Linked DNA regions of Homo sapiens: region 1 is linked to region 2. The links are contacts of gene promoters, found by promoter capture Hi-C in blood cells and fetal thymus (Javierre and others, 2016). All regions are on one chromosome and are shown on one strand. The core of a region is centred on a gene start or on the middle of the fragment in contact, and the rest is flanking DNA. Distances in the headings are between cores, read along the strand shown.

What was found. Contacts are between HindIII fragments. The CHiCAGO score rates a contact against its expected background, and 5 or more counts as called.
Region 1: a fragment that was not itself captured here is called in contact with the fragment with the promoter of SGMS1 in region 2 in 1 of 17 cell types (naive CD8 T cells); the score reaches 5.0 in naive CD8 T cells.

The regions. Positions count from the first base shown.
Region 1 is chr10:49,539,480-49,544,498 of GRCh38, forward strand. It overlaps a transcript of ERCC6 not described here. Among named protein-coding and RNA genes, the nearest start is that of ERCC6, 2.9 kb to the left of the region's middle. RefSeq lists enhancers at 1-54, 85-324. The HindIII fragment of the contact is 1,617 bases long and covers 2,090-3,706 here.
Region 2 is chr10:50,621,957-50,627,268 of GRCh38, forward strand. SGMS1 (sphingomyelin synthase 1) reads right to left here and starts at 2,000. Exons shown (of 11, transcript NM_147156.4): 1 at 1,751-2,000. It overlaps SGMS1-AS1 (SGMS1 antisense RNA 1), which reads left to right and starts at 2,995. Exons shown (of 4, transcript NR_126411.1): 1 at 2,995-3,235; 2 at 4,714-4,849. RefSeq lists enhancers at 48-207, 758-1,157, 1,869-2,397 and silencers at 1,348-1,687, 1,948-2,207, 2,256-2,413, 2,538-3,167. The HindIII fragment of the contact is 12,791 bases long and covers 1-5,312 here.

The DNA.
Region 1 (5,019 bases), core at 1,648-4,147, 1.1 Mb before region 2:
CACGGGAAGGATGGAGAGCTGTCCTGCTTCTCTGTTCCCCCTCCGCCACGCGCGCACCTGGGCGGAGTGAGTGCCTACAGAGCCTGCTTACATGTGTACATTGCCTTAAGTCCAGCGTTTAGTATCCGTCCTCAGATCTCAGAGGTAGGCGGGGTTTCGAGGCAGGCGAGAATTTTACCGTGGTGCGTTTGAAGAAAGAAGATGTCCACACAGAGGTTCAGAACAATGGGAGGAAGTTGAGCTTCGCCTGGGGAAAGAAGCAGCCCACGATGCAGGATGGCTGTACCAGACAGAGCTTCTCAGCTCAGGATCGGTGCTAGGAGAAGGTGGACTTTCCAGGGCCGCGAGGCAGGACGTCCTCTGGGAGGGCAGTGACTGCGGGTCACTGCCTGGGAAGTGCTGTCCTCACTTGGAAGCCTGAAGTCGGACAATAGGGAAATGGGGTCGGAAAGGGGACTAGGAAATGCTCCATAACATCATCTTATTCCTCCTGTCAGCGGCCCCAACCCACAATGTAACTTGTTTTTGTTGGTGGTAGTGGGTTTTTTTGTTTGTTTTGTTTTTGTTTTTGTTTTTGAGACGGAGTTTTGCTCTTGTCGCCCAGGATGGAGTACAATGGCACGATGTGGGCTCACTGCAACCTCCTCCTCCCAGGTTCAAGCGATTCTCCTGCCTCAGCCTGCCGGGTAGCTGGGATTACAGGCGCCTGCCACCATGCCCAGCTAATTTTTGTGTTTTTAGTAGAGACGGGGTTTCGTCATGTTAGCCAAGCTGTCCGCGAACTCCTGACCTCAGGTGATCCACCCGCCTCGGCCTCCTAGAGTTCTGGGATTACAGGTGTGAGCCACCACGCCCGGCTTGTAACTTGCTTTTTTTTTTTTTTAAAGGAGAAAGAATTCTAGCGATTTCTTGGATAAAATATTAAGAATAGAAAGGCAGTTGATTGACATTAGTTTCAATGCTTGAAAGTAAAAGCAGATATATAGTGGATCCCAACTTTTGAGACTGAGGTTCCCTTTGCAGCTATTTTGGAGACCCTTCCTATATCAGAATTTGGACAGGAAAAAATGGTCCACTCAAAAGGGGAAGTTGAGAGTTATTATTTACAAAGACGTGGGCGGGGTTCAGGAAAACAACTCAGGGTGGCACAACTGGAGCTATTAAGGGCCGAATTGTGTCCCCTCCCCAAAATTCATATGCTGGAGTCCTAACCGCCACTCCCCACCCCCACCCCGGGACCTCAGAATGTGACTGTATTTGAAGATAGGGTCTTTAATGAGGGAATTTAGTTAAATGAGGTCCCAAGTTATTTAGCAAGTCGTCCAAGCCCTTTTATACTCCTGCCCCATCTAATTTTTCTGCATCACTTGTGTCCTTCACTCCCTGGATGCCTATGCTCAGGATTTAGGGAACTACTTACTCTTCTCCCAGGAAGGGTGTGCTACAATTGGCTTCTACGGCCTAGCAAGCATACTGTTCACCTCTTCCCAGCTGCCTTAGCTCAGGCTGCCATAACAAATGCCATAGACTGGGCAGCTTAAACAACAGGCATTTGTTTCTCATAGTTCTGGAGGCTGGGAAGTCCAAGATCAAATGCAGGCAGATTTAGCTCATTTAGGGGAAGCTCTCCTCATGGCTTGCAAATGGTTACCTTCTCACTGTGTCCTTACATGGGGTAGAGAGAGGGCTCTGTCTTCCCTTTCTTCTAAGGCATCAGCCGTATTGGATTAGGGACTCACCCTTATGATCTCATTTAACCAGATTTGCTGCCTAAAGACCCTGTCTCCAAATAGTCACATTGAGGGTTAGGGATTCAGCATATGAATTTGGGGGGCACCCAGTTTAGCCCATAGCACCAACTCTGCCTTTGTTGACTTCACATTAATAGCTTGAAATCAGCCATAGTAGGAGTATTTATACCACAGAAATGGACAAACTATAAACTGGAACTTTGGGGGAGAGGCAATTATTAATCTTTTCCCACATACCCCTACTTGTTATTCTGTCACTTCTGTGATCTTACAAGCAGGTCCCTCTGCTTAGAATTCTCTTACCCATTCCAAACTCAGACAAAGTTTCTCTTTTCTGAAGCTTTCCCCTACCCTCTGACAGCAATAGGCTCTTGCATCTCCTGTGTACCCCCAAACCAATATTTCTAATGTCATTATTATAGTAGTTATTGATTTGGATTTTAATCCATTTTCCCTACCATTTCCTAGCCCTTACTCTAAGCTGGGCATTATTTTAAACACCCCACCCAAGGGGTTCTTCCTGCCCACTGCATAAAGAAAGACCATAGCATTGTGGTAGAAAAAGAGCTTAATAGACACGAGGCCGACCATGCCAGGTGGGAGATGGAGTGCATGCTCAGGTCATCTGATCCAAAGTCCGAAGCTCATAGGCTGGGGGTTTTTCAAACGCAGTTTGGAGGAAGGGGTGGGAGTGGCCAGGTAACAGGTGCTTGCTGCTGATTGGTTGAGGCTGAGATGAAATCATAGGGGGAGTCAAAGCTGTCCTCCTGCAGTCTGAATCACTTCTGGGTGGGGCTGTGGGAGTGGGGTTGGCGGTCCAGGTGGAGCCATGGGTGTCAGACATGCAAAAAACCTGGAAAGATATCTCAAAAAGCTACAAATAGTGGTTGTATTAGTCTGCTCTCGTGCTGCTAATAAAGACATACCCAAGACTGGGTAATTTATAAAGGAAAGAGGTTTAATTGACTCACAGTTAAGCATGGCTGGGGAGGCCTCTGGAAACTTACAATCATGGTGACAGGGGGAGCAAACATGTCCTACTTCACATGGTGGCAGCAAGGAGAAGTGCAGAGTGAAGGAGGGGGAAAGCCCCTTATAAAACCATCAGATCTCGTGAGAACTCACTATCAGAACAGCATGGAGGTAACCACCCTCACGATTCAGTTATCTCCCACCGGCTTCCTCCCACAACATGTAGGGATTATGGAAACTACAATTCAGGATGAGATTTGGGTGGGGACACAGCCAAACCATATCAGTGGTGTTATTTGCAGGAGTAATTGGGAAAGTTGAGTATCTTATAACCTCCAGAATAATGACTGACAATCGTTCATATCTGCGCCTTAGCAGGACTCAGGCTCCTCTCCTCCCCCACAGCCTGATAGCTTCCCATTAGCTTTACAAAAACAGTTGAGTTTCAGGCAAGGTCTGTTATCATGTAAACTATAGCCTAAATGTCTCTCAAAGTTAGCTGGCCCCAGTAGCTTAGAAATAATTAAGGGAAAGGCAAGATAGGTGTTGGAATGGGGGCGTTAACTCAGACCTCTTTCACTGTCATAATTTTCTAACTGATATAATTTTTGCAAAGGTGGTTTCATTGTCTTGAGTGCTTTACTAATGTTAACTTGTTTAACTATGACGATATTCATCCTTGCGCCTTTATTTCACATTTCGTGTTCAATATAAGGAATTCTCCCAATGACCTACAGAACAGAGGTCTGAGTTGACTCTCACTTTTCAAAACTTCTGGGTAACGGCAGTGCAACAAAACCGGTTTGGTTCTCTGATCCTTATAAATGGGGAAAACTCATGAAAAATAATTAGATGTATTGGAAACACAATAAATACTTTGTAAAAATTATAAATCAAAAAAGAAGCAAAAGCATATTATTTAGAACTGTGTTGGCAACCACTAGAAAAACATGTTAAATGTATGTTGAATAAATGAATCAGCAAGCTTAAAAGCAATGAATGTATAAAACCATCCATTGTGAACTGTTACCAGGAAGGATTCCCGATCCAGATGCCGAGAGAGTTCTTAGACCTTGAGTAAGAAAGAATTCGGGGCAAGTCCATAGAGTAAAGTGAAAGCAAGTTTATTAGGAGAGTAAAGGAATAAAGAATGGCTACTCCATAGGCAGAACAGCAACTTGGGCTGCTTGATGAGAATACTTATAGTTATTTCTTGATTATATGCTAAAGAAGGGGTAGATTATTCCTGAGTTTTCTAGGAAAGGGGTGGGTAATTCCCAGAACTGAGGGTTCTTCCCATTTTTAAACCATATAGGGTAACTTTCTGATATTGCCATGGCATTTGTAAGCTGTCATGTGCTGATAGGAGTGTCTCTTAGCATGCTAATGCATTATAATTAGCATATAAGGAAGAGTGAGGATGACCAGACATCACTTTCATTGCCATCTTGGTTTTCGTGGGTTTTGGCCAGCTTCTTTACCGCAAACTGTTTAATCAGCAAGGTCTTTGTCACCTGTATCTTGTGCCAACCTCCTACCTCATCCTGTGACTTAGAATGCCTGCCCTCTTGGGAATACAGCTCAGTAGGTCTCAGCCTTATTTCACCCAGCCCCAATTCAAGATGGAATCACTCTGGTTCAAATGCCTCTGACATATTTCTCCCTTCCCTTTTACAAGGGAACGCCTAATCCAAAGGGTAGTAGAGGGACAAAGATCCATCTTCTGTAACTTCTTCAAGCTGAATAAGGGCTATGCTACTCCTACCTAACTATTATGGTCTCTTGTATTCAGGGTAGTGAGGAGCTCAGTCAGAAGGCATCACTATGGTGAGGGACATTCATAACTCTTGAGGGCAAAAGGTGATATCTGGAAGATTAAAAAGTATTCAATTTAATTAAACATTGAGTAAGCTTATCCTGCACTCCCACACGGAGTACAACAGCAATATGTTCCACAACGGTAAAGCAAAATAAGTAAAACTATCCCAAGTAAACTAAATTAGAAGGCTTTCCATGAACTCGGCAACAGCTGGAACTGGGCAAGCTGATATGAAGTTGCTGTACATGCTATATGTTCCAATTAGAATTAGAATATTGATCCAGATTTTTACATTACCCATTTCTGTTATTTTTTTTCTGAGCAGCAGCCAGAGATCACTGGTTAGTTGGCAGGAAAAAGTAGGGTTAGTCTAAATTGCAAGGAAGAAAAAACCCTTAAAAATAACTGATGAGACTAGAATCTAATAACAGGTGTACCATAGTTGAAACATAACTTTTTTCTCTCTTCAGGCTCCCA
Region 2 (5,312 bases), core at 750-3,249:
AAGGAAACTCGAAATACCAGGGCCTCCAGAGCTAAACAGGAAGCAAGATAAGACAAGTGAGCTGCCACAGGCAGAAGGCAGCACCTGGAGGTTCCCCCAAAGCTGGCGCCTCCGACAGCAGGCACAGGCTGCTGCTTGCTTGCTTGCTTGCTTCTTTGCTTGGCCACGGCATGTCTTCAGAGCTGGAAGGCTGCCACCTGCTGAATCACCAAACATCCCTGGGCTTCCCTTGGAGCACTGACCAGACAGGCACCCATCCCCCGCAGCCTTCGCCCGTGGACGTTTCACACCCCGACCAATGAAACGCCCCGCCCTCTCCCCTTCTGCACAGGCCAAAACAGCCGCCAACCCCTTTCCATCTGGGCAGCTCTAGGCAACACCCATCGCGTTCCTACGTCACCAGTCCCACTCCTCTCCTTCGGCCCACTCAGTCCCCCCTGAATGTTTCAACCCCCAGTGCCAGGAAGCGTGGGGAGTTCACAGCACAGCACATCAGACATTCGCCACTTCCACATCCAGGGAGCCAACTAGAAACATCCCCAAACCTAAAAGCAAAATAACCTGTCCAAACAGCTTTAAAGGTCCAGGAAGATAAATGTCAAGGGAGCTAAAATAGTCGACAGGCCCCAGAACATAGAAAATAAACTTCCCTTTCAGAAAGCAGCCTTCACTTGGTTTCGTAAGCGTGTACCGCTGAAGTCTGTACTGTTTGAAGGTGAAAAGAAACATCTGAGAAGCACCTGCCTGGATTCTCTTCGCTCCCTCCGGCCATGACAACCCTTATCCCGATTTCTACTTCGCGGCACCAAAGAGGAAAGCAGCATTCACCAGAACGCTCCAGGCTGAATCCGTTAGCTGGACTAGGGCACTCTATCCGGCCCACGGGAGGACGCCACAAGCCCGAGTTCGGGTTAAGACGGTGGGAGAGGCAGCCGCTGCTGCTGCTGTTTTGCCCTTGACACGTCGCTGGGGGATAGCGCAGACCCCCTCTGTCACGGAAAAGCGGCGTCCTGGAGAGACTGTCCAGTTCTGGGCTGCGCCGATTCCCCTCCAGGCCTTGCCCCTAAACGTCCCCGCCCCGCGGGGGCAGCCCTGCGGGGTCTCAGAGCCGCCCGCGAGCCTGGCGGGCTGTTACGCGGCCTGGAGAGAAGGGGAGCGCTCCTCGGGGAGGGGGGGTCCCACCTGTTTTGTCGTCAGGGGGCATCGAGGGGCTACGGTGGGGGGATCCCGAAATAGTGGGCGCCTGGCCGGCTGCGATCTGGACCGAAGGTACCAACTGTCACACCGCCACCTAGGCTGTGGGGGTGGAGCCGTGATTGGAGTCGGCCCCTGGGTGGGGGTCTCCGGACCCCGGGCGGGCTACTGCCCAAAGGCTCCCCGCCTCCCGATCGCCCCAATCCGACACCAGGCAGCCTTCCAGCCCGCACGCAGTAGCTCTGAAAAGGTGCCCACTGACGCCTCCTCCTTCCTCCCCGCCCCAACTTAGCCGGGGAGCCCCGCCGGCGGCCCGCCCCCTCCGAGCCCGGATCCCGGCCGCCGGACCTCCCCGCTGTGACCACCCACGGGAGCAGCAGCTCTGGAGGACTGCCCGCCAGGTACGCGCGCGGCACCGCGCGGGCTGCGCTCACGCCCCCTCGCCCCAGAGCAGCCCGCCCGCTGCTCCCCGGCATAAGGCCGGGCCCGCGAGACAGGTGTCCGATCGGCCCCCGCAACCGTGAGGCCGGCTGTCTGTCCCTGCCCCACGACTCACTTGCACTGGAGTCACGGCAGCCGCCGGAATTCCGCTCGCGGAGCCCCCGCCGCGGAATGAAATCCGGGGCAGGGCAGCGTCGGGGCTCCGCACCCCAATCGCGCTCTCCGACCGGCTCCCTAGGCGCGAGGGGAGAGCAGTCAGCCCAGGCCGGTCCTTCTCACTCCCGACCTGCCCGCCGCCTGCCGCCCGCAGCCGCTGCCCCGCTGGTGCGAACGCTTTCGACTTGCCACCGCGAGCCTCCCGGGCTGCCGAGCATGCCCAGTCCGCTGCCCGAGCCGGCCCGGCTTCCCGCGCGACGCGACTCCGCTCCTCCGGGTGTTCACTGCGGCCGGGGGGGCGGGCCGGCCGGGCGGGGTCCGCGGGGGGCTCCTCCCGGGACCGAGCGGGACCCCGAACCAAGGGACAGTCGCAGTTTGGGCCCCTTGAATTTTACTTTCAAGTAATGGGAAACTGAGGAGGCGGGCGCTTTCCCCAGCGTTTTTAGGGGCCCACTAAGTAAGGCCTAGCGGGAGCCAGATTTTACAATCTGGGACGGTAAATCCCTTGGGGCAGGGCCGGAGACGGGAGCCGCTAGAGCTGGTCACAAAGCAGGGAACGCAAACTCAGCCTGCTGGAAGCCAGGCACGAGTTTGCGAACTACTACTGGATTCTTTTTCCCACCAAGCCCAAGGGCTGCGACACTTGGGATTAATGCCCAATGGATCATTCCTAGGAAACGGCCGACCTGACTATTCGGCCCATTTTCAAACCTCTAACCATAGACTCTCATCTTTCTCCCACAACAGAAAAAAAAAGCCTCTGGCGACGCCTGGGAGCGCGACGGAGGCGCAAGAGCTCTAACCGCGCGAGGTGAAAACTCCGACTGCGTCAGAGCCGCCCCGCCCCGCCTGGGGCCCACCTTCCGCCGCCCCTCCGAGCTGCGGCGAAAACCCGGAGAGCGGCTAGGCCGGGGTCGGAGCCCGCGCATGCCCAGTAGCCCCACGTGGTGCAAGTCGCCTGAAGGAAGGTTTTCCTCTGCTCCCCGAGCGAAGCCCCAGCGCCCAAGTTAGGATGGACAGCGGGGAGAGCTGGCCTTCCCGCCCCGATGCCCGCCGTCCCTGGCCGGCCCGCGCCGCACCTCGGTGGCCTACAGGCAGCCCGAGGCCGTGCCTCCCGCGGGGTCGGGGACTTGGCGAGCGGGGGAAGGGGCGCGGCTACGGGCCCGGCGTACCACGTGACTGTCCGCGGCGCTCCGGGCAGCCATCTTCCGCCCGGCCATCGGGCCGCGGGCGCTCGGAACCGACCTGGGAGCTGGCGGGACCGTCCTCCCCCGCCACGCCCTCCCATCGGGCTTTGGGCGCCGGACTCTGGCCACCGCTCGGCACCTGCCTCCGCCTCGCCTTGGGGTATAGGAGTCCTGTACCGACCCCTGGCTTGCCCAGAGGACAGGTTCTCGCCCGGGCCAGAAGCAAACTGCGGCGAAATCGAGACAACAGAACTCAGGTGGCGGAGGGTCCCCGCTTTTCCCCAGAGGCGGAAGTTGGCGAGGGAGTCCTCTTCCGTTATCCAGCGAGAGCGCTGCTCTGGCTGCCTCCCGGTTCTAACCTAGTCCCTGCAGAGGAGTGATGTACCGGCAGGGACATTGGACAGAGGCCGTGCTCTTCCCTGCAGCGCATACCCCGCGGCCCCTGCTGGTGGGCCGCTTCGATGGTGCTGAGGTTCATAGTGAATATTTATTGAGCGCCTGCCTCGAGTCCCTTGGGTTTCCTGTTGTCTCGGGACCTGCCGCGTCACTATCACCCTAGAATTTGTTAGAAATGCACGTTTTCGGCCCCACCTAGACCTACAGAACCAGAAACTGCGGGTGGAGTCCTGCAATATGATTAACAAAGCCCTCCGGGTAGTTGTCATGGACGCCTCTATATTTCAGCTAAGCAGTCCATTTTAATAAGCTAGGCAGTGAAAATTTCCATAGTTTTCCCCAAAGCACAGTGAGGAGTCAGGGATTCAAAATGAGGCAATCTGCCCCAATGCAGGCGTTTTATTGCACCCTCCACTCCTGGCTCCTCTGGTTTTTTCGCCCGTAAGACACAGTACTGCTCTTCTCAGGAAGATTAGGAAAGTACATTTGTCACATACGCTTTTCAAGCACGGCTTTAAAATAACAACTGAAATTCAGTTCAACTGCATGTTTTGAGTATCTACTGGGAGCAAGGCTCTGTGAAGTATAGTAGCCCTACTGGTTATGTTTATCAGTTTGCACCTAAAAGGTGAAAGGAAGGCTTGCTTTCTTGTGATGTAAATTTTTTCAAACTAAGGGAGTGCCAGAAAACTGCTGGCTGCTTTCTCTCCCGTGTTGGTTTCTCTCCAGTGCTATCCAGAATATGCTGTAAGCTCTGGACTTCCTGAAACAAAGGTCCAAGTAAGCATCTGGTCTTTGATGTACTTTAAAATGCACCCCACCCCCACATGAAAGATAACTAAATTTTTCAAAATATTAATACTTCTTGAATGTAAATCGTGTGTCTAAGGTACTGGCATAATTTTTTTTTTCAAATTTTCTATATGTTTGAAATGTTTCATAATAAAATCCTTTTAAATTTTTTTCCATGTGTAATTTTAGGATGATATATATATAGCACATGGAAAAAAGCAGGGCATAGAAGTATTTCCACTTTAATTTCAGTTTCATAAAATCAGAGAGAAAAAGTCATAGATATATACACCATACATAAAAAATAAAAGCGTAAATAAATACAGAAAGAAATCTAAAGAGAAATCACCATAGCAGTAAAAGTAAATTCTGTGTGAAGTGGTTATAAGAGACACTAAGAGTTGCCCCTCCTTGAAATTATATTTAGTTATGGTCCTTAAGTCACTATTATTTGTAACCAAAAAAAAAAATTGAATAAAAATAGTTCTCCCTCTTTAGTCCATCCAATCCTAAAGAATTTTTATCAGTGCCCTTTCTTTTTCTTCAGAGTCACTCTGTCACCCAGGCTGGAGTGCAGTGGCACCATCACAGCTCCCTGCAGCCTTGACTTACAGGGCTCCAGTGATCCTCCACCCTCAGCCTCCTGAGTATCTGAGACCACAGGTGCAAGCCACCATGCCCAGGTAATTTTTTATTTTTGGCCGAGGCTGTTTCATCATGTTGCCCAAACTGGCCTTGAACCCCTGAGCTCAAGTAATCCACAGGCCTCCGCTTCCCAAAGTGCTGAGATTACAAGCATGAGCCACTGTGCCTTGCTTACCAGTGTATTTCTTAGGAAAATTTTAATAAACATCATATTGTTGGATTGTAAAATTTTTGGATTCTCAAGTACTCAGAATATCATGAATTACGTTGCTGTCAAGACAACTAGGAAACAAAAGTGAATCACCTCCAAGTCACAATCTGTCATTAGAAATCTTGTTAAAAATAATACTAAGAGCAAATACTGAAGCAAATGCTTCACTTACCAAAACAGCTATTCTGAAGTAGGTGGTTTGGTTCCAAATGAATGACTTTTCTACCTTTAGAAGGTAAACTACCTGATTTAAAATGTGGTTTTATTCAGTGGACCTTTCAGCAGTAGCC